2 separate regions of the Homo sapiens genome follow, and region 2 is linked to region 1. Evidence: promoter capture Hi-C in 16 types of primary human blood cells and fetal thymus (Javierre and others, 2016). All regions are on one chromosome and are shown on one strand. The core of a region is centred on a gene start or on the middle of the fragment in contact, and the rest is flanking DNA. Distances in the headings are between cores, read along the strand shown. Region 1 holds the start of NXPE3 (neurexophilin and PC-esterase domain family member 3). Region 2 has its middle 110 kb from the start of ZPLD1.

Region 1 (4,112 bases), core at 1,020-3,519:
ATGACTTTTAAAAGGAAAATATGTCCATTAATTTGAGAGCATGGACCAACGCAGTAGTGACATCAACTACTTCACTCACTTTCAGTCTCTTACCCTTGGCAGCCTCCTCCAATTGTTCATGGTGTTTTGGAACAGAGTGGTTGGTACCTAATGTGACAGTGGTCACTTAATTTTCAGTAGGTAGATGGCCTTGGGGCCCAAATTTCAGTGACTTGTTCAAAGGGAGGAAGCAAAGGAACTGAATGAGGAACTGACTTGGGCTCAGGAGTATGCATGTAGGCCTCCGTGAAAACATCTGAATGAACACAGAGTCCACTGTGGTCAAGAAATATAAAAATACTTAATGTGCTTGTGCCTCAAGCTTCTGCCATCAGGGACAGGTTTATTTGCTTTTATTTGTCTACTCTTAAGATCTATGCTTTGTTTTGCTTAGAGAATCAAGTTTAGCATTAATAAACACTAGTGTGTAAACTACATTTTCAGATGGGGCAGAAATGACCAGTTCCTTTGGTTTCATATCATCATATAAACATTTTTTTATTTTTTGAGACAGGGCCTCACTCTGTCACCCAGGCTGGAGTGCAGTGGCTGCTCTTATTTGTGGTTATGACTGTAAAATATAGGTAAATATAGGTAAGATCACTCAAATGCCTCAGGGTTATGAGTGCTTGGGGGAGAATGGGGTCAATGAGGTCCAAAACCATGACCTAGAAGTCATCTTGTCCTAAGTATTTTACCACTTGTAAGACAGCCAAGCTGTACATGAGGCGGGGGATCCTACTGGGAGATAAAGCATAATCAGAGCAGAAGTCTAGTATATGAGGCTCTTCTTCGATAGCAGAAGGAAGCTACCCTTTTATGTCCTCAAAAGGTCCCAGAGTGCTGTATTTCCTCGAGGAAGAAGGAGTATCAGATCATTACTACAATGGTTGAACTAGTTTACAGTCCCACCAACAGTGTAAACGTGTTCCTACTTCTCCACATCCTCTCCACCACCTGTTGTTTCCTGACTTTTTAATGATCGCCATTCTAACTGGTGTGAGATGGTATCTCATTGTGGTTTTGATTTGCATTTCTCTGATGGCCAGTGCTGATGAGCATTTTTTCATGTGTTTGTTGGCTGCATAAATGAACACTTGGACACAGGAAGGGGAACATCACACACCTGGGCATGTTGTGGGGTAGGGGGAGGGGGGAGGGATAGCATTAGGAGATATACTTAATGTAAATGACGAGTTAATGGGTGCAGCATACCAACATGGCACATGTATACATATGTAACAAACCTGCACGTTGTGCACATGTACCCTAGAACTTAAAGTATATTAAAAAAAAAAAAAAGAAGATCATTACTACAGAAGAGATCTTCCACCCTGTGGCAGAACTTCCTTTTATCCCATTCACGGATCTGGTTGCCCACGAAGCAGGCCTGCCATGAAAACATCTGAATGAGCATGCAGAGTCCATTATGGTCAAGAAATGGAAAAATACTTAGTTGTCATGTACATTAATTATTTTTCTTAAACCTTGGGGTAATAGTCCGGGGGCAGGCCTGCTTTTGGGGCCTGTGTTAACCCCACTGTGCTCCAAGCACAGAGAAACACGGTGCAGCCCACAATTCCTTCTGGTTTCTTGAACAAGTGTCTTCTCAGGACTCCTCTCAGTTCCTGAATTTCACAAAACTGCTACCGACGTTTTACCAGTTAGAAAAATGTCCAAAATAGGATAACCCAGAATTGGGGATGGTGGAGGGTGAGGAAAGTATGCTTTGCCAAGAGACCGACATCATGTACAGTGAGAGTAAAAGGAACGGGCTGTTTTACTGGCGAGTAGAAGTTGTTGACTAATGTCAAAGCAAGGAAAAGATTCAAGGATCCGCTATATCCGTGCTTATACTTGGCAAATCGCATTTCTCTGGTTCAGGGCACAATAAATTCCATCACTCCACAGGAAAGACTGCCCTACTAGAGTCAACTGCGGTTGTGGGCACTTTCGCTGACAAGCGAAAAGCCTTGAGGTAGGTGGATGCTCCCAGGAAACTCAGACGTCCGAAGTTCACGAGGAGTTGGGTCGTGAGAGGGGCCAGACCTCGATCCGCGGGGCGACAGCTGCAGTGTCGCGTCGCGAGCAGGAGCTTGGCGGCGTAGAGCGCCAGGGTGCCAACTTCGCTTCCAGGCCTGTGGGTTCCGCCCGGCGCGTGCTGCTGTCAGTCAACGCCCTCGGCCCGCCCCCGCCGAAGCTCCACCAATCGTAGCCGGGGGTCGGAGGTGAGGAGACGTCGCCGGGTGAGGAAGCGGGGGGCTAGCGGCCTGGCGCTGCGGCGACCGACCGGGGCGTCAGGATCCCTGGCCCCCGGAGAGCGAAGGGCGGGCGGGTCCCGGAGGTGAGTGCTGGATGTGGTCTGTGTGCGGACGTCGGGAGGGGCCGCTGCGGGCGGAGCGACCCATTGCCCGGCTCTGCCAGCGCGCTCCTAGACTGCGAAGCCCCTCCCTCCGCGCGCATCTGCTCCCGAGTCCCCAGCCCCGTGCTGATAGGTGCAGCCCCTGGAGTCGTGGCTGTGGGCATAGGTGCCAGGGAGGGGAGGCCCGGGTCGAAGGCATAGGCAGAATTGGAGCCCTGGGTTGCCAAAGCGTCGCAGCTAAGAAGCCGGAGCCCAGGCTAGTACCGGCGGGGCGGGGCGGGGCGGGGCCGGGAGCGAGCATCTCCATCCTCAGTTTCCTCCACTTGCGGCAACGCCACAGCTCGGTACAGTTCGGACCTCCACGCCGCAGCGAAAGACTTCTGTCCTCCAGGCACCTTCACTAACCCGGTGCGGAGCACTTGGCGACGCCTCCCTGCCCATCTCATATCTCTCGGCTCATCGCTGCTCTGGGCACCAGCTGCCTCTTGGCTGGCGCTGCTGTCACACGGTGGACTGTTCTGGCCTTACTGAGCTGCCGTTTGGGGACATCAGATTCAGGTCGTATGGGGAGAAACGAGTGTAACTTTACAAGGTGTGATATGGAGACCCTGGCCTGTTGCCCATTTCTGCCTGATCAAAGGCCACTAGGGTGGTAATAAGAGGGGTTCCGAGGCAGGATTTATGCAGCATTTGTGCAAAATTGTAAATTTTCTTTGCTTTTCATTATTTACATTAAAGGGGGATTGTTGCCACATTTCCTAAAGATAAAGAATCACACTGCTTTGGTGGGCCTCCCCGCTCCTCACTGTGGTTAATTATCATTTGGAACATCAGGATATATTTGAAACTGGCAGGACTCCCAGACCCTGATAATTGTTTGGAGGCAGCAGTATACTATTTCTCCGTAGTGTTTGGGTTCTGCTTTTCTTTGAATTTGTTTAGTATTTTTTTTTCCATGTCTGTTATCCTCACAATCTCTTTGGGGCCAATAGAGTGCTGTTATTTGTTACTGAGAAAGGAAACGAAGGGATAAATCACTGAAGTGGGGTTAGCCTTCCCCATTGCCTGGGAATTGGGTTGTCCTGACCTGACAATTTAAGTTACAATTCAAACATCATTTTGGAAAGGCCATCCTTTTACCAACTGAAACGAATAACAGTCCCTGGCCACTCTATACTAGTGGTTCTCCCACTTGGCTGTATGTTGTAATCATCTAGGGACCTTTTTAAAAAAAGCTACTTCTTGGGCCTATTCCTACAGATTCTGATTTAATTGTTTGAGTGGGGCCCAGTTGTTTGTATTTTAAAAAGCTTCCACGATGATTATTAATGTTCATGCAGGGTTGAGGACCACAACCTATCAATGTGTTCAATATTTAAAAAATAGCACTTAGTACAGTGTGACTTATATAACTGATTTTATTACTTCTCCACTTGCTATGTAACCTCCATGAATACATGGGGCCCTGCTTTGGAAGAAGGGCAAGGGAAGGTCCAGATGAGTCAGCACTTTGTGCATGTGAGGCTGCGGGACACGAAGGAGAAATGGAATCTGTGGAAACAAGTCCTGCAGACTACTGCCCCTGCTTCATCTTTTTTCAAGGATTGACCCTATTTGGTTAACCCATCATTGTTAGGGTCCTGGATGGGTCTCCAGTTCTTCATTCTGTAGATCCTGCCCTGTTTCAAGGTCTTACTCAGCATCCTATGAA
Region 2 (4,112 bases), core at 418-2,917, 760 kb after region 1:
GGATGTTGCTATGTTGCCCAGGCTGGTCTTCAACTCCTGGCCTTAAGTGATCCTCCTGCCTCAGCCTCCCAAAGTGCTAGGATTAGAGGTGTGAGCCATGTCTGGCTAGATATTTGATCTAGTAAAACAGTGTCCAAGTTGATGCGGTGACCAGTGACATGTGAGCTTTAAGGACTAGGCTTGTATTTGGAAAAAGTGAAAGCAGAGATACAGCTATAAAAAGTCTAGACAATTAAATCCAGTTCTAAGCAAAAAGAGAAGAAATAGAACCAGGAAAATTCTGTATTGAGAGATTTTCCTTAAGCATTTGAGTACTGGCATCAAAGAATATGTATGATAGATGATCCACAAGTATTTGTTTGGGCTCTGAATTTAGCCTTCATAAACATGGGGACATCACTGATTTCCATGCTACCTCAGATCCCTACTAGTATCTTTCTCCAATTTGTGACCCACAATATCCAACCAGTTATTTTCCATCTATCTTGTTCATGTAGTACCTTGACCAAATTGTAAAGGAATAACTCAAGCAGATTAGACAGTTAGTCTTTGGCCAGGTGAATAAGACAGAAGAAGATATTTCAGGCAGAGAAAGTAGCATATGCAAAGGCTCAAGTGTAAGAAAGAGTAAGACAGGTTCAGTAATCTTGGGACAGTGCAGACTGGTGGAATGTGTGTTCATGGGATTTTTGTAGGTGTGGAGTTTGACGAAGAAGGATTCCAGAGAGAAGTGACTGGAAATATAAGCTGGGTTTGGGTGGTGGAGTATGTTCCATGTGCTATATTCAGGATGCCTCTCCCTGCATAGACTCAAGTTTTAGATATATCTTAATAGGAGTTTCCAGAAGTTAAGCATAAAAGGAAATCCCTTTATTCTGATGAGATTCCATGACTCTTTATGTGTCTTGGGAAAATTAGGATATAAGCTAGAGTATAAGTAATAACCCAATTCTGTTCTAATAGAATAATTCAATTATCCTGGTACTGTCATTGGATGTATCATGAATTTGCAGGTGTATGTTTATTTTCATAGAAATAATTTCCCATCTTTCTATAAAGTGATAATTTCTACAATAACATCCTGATGATATTGGCTGCCTTATAATTAAGTCTACTCTACATGACGAGGTTCTTCTGGAACTTTTGAATCTGGACGACACCAGAATAAAAGAGAAATATAGGCTTTAAATATAATTGTTGTAATTTCTGAAGACCACTGGTTAAGGCAAATCTAGTTAATGCATAGGAAATCTTGATTTATACGACATTCTCTACCTGGTCTCAGCCTGTCTATTCAGCCTCATTTATCCCTATCCATTTCCTTCTTACCTCACAATCTCACACACCTGCTCTCTGCCCACTTTGTGTCCTTCACTATTTCCCAAAAATTCCTGCCCATTTATGCTAAGCTTTGAACATGCTATTTTCTCTATCTGCTGAAGGTAAAGACTTACCTTTGGCAGCTATAATAATATTTTGCTACAATCTAAGTAATTCTTGACATCAATTGCTTACTGTCAAGAGGGTCAGTTATTATTAATCTTGCAGTTTGGTGGGAGAAAAGAAATTGAAGAGGGATGAAGAAAGGGGACTTATCCCTCAACTTCTTTTTTCAGAGATAGCCTCTGTATTCCAAATTTATGACTAGTAATTTAGAGGAGAAATATTCCTCAGTAAAATGCACCTGGAAGAAAAAAGAGTAGGGGTAAGAGGAGAGAGGGATGAAGGAAGGAAACAAGGAGGAGGAAACTACTCTGGGTACTTTGCTTTCTGAGCCAGTAAACATAATCTCATTTAATCCTTGCTACAATCCTGTGATCTTAGAGTACTAATTCCATTTTACTTTTAAGGGAAGAATATCCAAAAAGTAGATAATATTTCCAAGGTTATGTAGCCAACTAGATAATGGAGTTAGAATTTAAATCCAAGCTTTTAAGACTCAGAAGTCTACCACTCTTACCAAAGGCTCTACTTAGTGTCTTATTACAGTAATGTAAAAAAATAAATGGGATCAAGATATTATTGGGATGGTAATTGTAGTCTCCTGATTTACAGCCCATTGTTCTAGCCCCATCCCATCTGAACTATTGTCTTTTGGATAGGAAGGTTCATGTCTTATCTGTAACCATCAACACTGGCCATCTATACCGGGTGTGGCAGCTCACAGCTGTAATCCCAGCACTTTGGGAGGCCAAGCTAGGTGGACCGCCTGAGCTCAGGAGTTTGAGACCAGCCTGGACAACATGGGGAAACCCTCTCTTTACCAAAAATACAAAAAATTAGCTGGGCGTGGTGGCACGTCTGTGATCCTAGCTACATAGGAGGCTGACGTGGGAGGATTGCTTGAACCTGGGAGGTGGAGGTTGCAGTAAGCCAAGATAGTACCATTGCACTCCATCCTGGGCGACAGAGGAAGACCTCATCTCAAAACAAACACACACACACAAAGAAAACCCCATAAAAAACAAAAAAGAAACAAACAAAAACCCAAAACAAAATACAGCCATCTACTTAAGGCCATCTACTTAGTTATTTGGCATATGGCATTCCTTATATATATATTTTTGAAAATGATTTAAAGTCCTACATAATTTTTGACTACTTGGTACAGAGTATCCATCATAGATAATTCTTGACCTTAAAATTATTGTAAATTCAATGCCTTGCTGTTTATAATGCATTAAACTAAACTAAACTAAACAGAATGGGCTAAACTAAACAAAATCCCTGTTAGGCTGGGAATTTAATAAGTCACATTTTAAAAGTCCCTGAAGCTCTGAATTATTTGGTTATAATATTTAGAATCACTGTGAAACTGTGTTACAAAGTAAGGATAATGGAGAGAGATAAAGGAAAAGGAGGAGGCTTCTATAATGTTTAAGGTGGTTGCAAGAATAGTGACGTCTAAGAATAAGCTTGGATGTCCTACAGCATCAGACAATGGTAGTGCAAAAAGGAATCCTGTAATAACAACAGTTTAAAGGGAAAAATCGCTTCACTTTACCCCATCCTGGTCTATATAAGATGTTTGATCTTTCCAGTTGACTGAAGTAAGCTCTTAATAGAATCCTTGATAACAAAAAGGAATGAAGTAAGGGTAAGATAAATGCTTTTAAAACCACCAAAATTCAAGTGGGCAAGTGATATAAGGGTTAATTCTTTGCTGTTAAATTTTCTAATGAACTTGGCAACAGGCTGTTAAAAGTTTATTAGCTTGATGCTGGTTAATCATCCTGTTTCGTTTTGGACCACAGTAAAGGAACACAAACCAAATTAACCAGCACATGAGCCCTTTATAAGAACCTCTTTAAAATAATTTACTTAGCTTATTTACTCCCACTTTTTGAGTTCTCTGAACTATAGAATTCTCCAAATGAATCAGTACCCCAATTTGTTTGCCAGAATATAAAGATGAAAAGAAAAATGAGCTCTCTTACAATACCCTCTGGGACTAATTACCCTGATCTGACTAGACTGGTTGTTAGATCTGAATTATAGTCATGAATAAGTTAGATCTTAATTAAAGTCATGTATGGGGTCCAAGAGGCAATGTCATACAGGCAAAAAAGCTGTTTTGTAATAAGTGGAAATTAGTATTATAGTGCTTTGTGAGACATTGAGCTTCTGGTTAGAAACCTATCTTCTGAGATGTAGAAGAAATTTCAGGTTTAAAAAACCCATCTTCTCTCTTTATATATGGTCTTTTCTAAATTTTGAAACCAAATTAATTTTGGCATTTCCACTAATGTGAATGAAATGATGTTTTCAAAATTAGCTTATCTTTATTTTCTTTTACCTGCAAATGTATGGCAGCTTTTATTTAATGTTTTAAACTTTCTTAATAGTTACCAACATCTTGTATGAGTAGGAAACAATGAAGCAAGAAAGATTTTTAATCGGATTGGATAATGTAAGAGAATTTTCTGGTGGTAGAAGGGCTTGAATATTAAAAGATAGCTCTGGAGTAGATAACAAAATTTTCTTCTCTGGAGGTTTTTAAATTTAAAGAAGTTTCATTCAGAAAACAGGTGGATGAACTTCATCTATGTTTCTTGACCTATTCTTTTTGACTGAAGAATAAGAATGTTCTAAGTGTGTCACAAGCCACCTGA

The links. The method cuts DNA at HindIII sites, captures the fragments that hold promoters and counts their contacts. A CHiCAGO score of 5 or more calls a contact.
Region 2: a fragment that was not itself captured here is called in contact with the fragment with the promoter of NXPE3 in region 1 in 5 of 17 cell types (naive B cells, M0 macrophages, total B cells and 2 more); the score reaches 7.5 in naive B cells.

Annotation. Positions count from the first base shown.
Region 1 is chr3:101,776,942-101,781,053 of GRCh38, forward strand. It overlaps NXPE3 (neurexophilin and PC-esterase domain family member 3), which reads left to right and starts at 2,270. Exons shown (of 8, transcript NM_145037.4): 1 at 2,270-2,383. RefSeq lists enhancers at 2,084-2,378, 2,943-2,992 and a silencer at 2,183-2,532. The HindIII fragment of the contact is 3,350 bases long and covers 360-3,709 here.
Region 2 is chr3:102,539,796-102,543,907 of GRCh38, forward strand. No RefSeq gene overlaps it. Among named protein-coding and RNA genes, the nearest start is that of ZPLD1, 110 kb to the left of the region's middle. The HindIII fragment of the contact is 520 bases long and covers 1,408-1,927 here.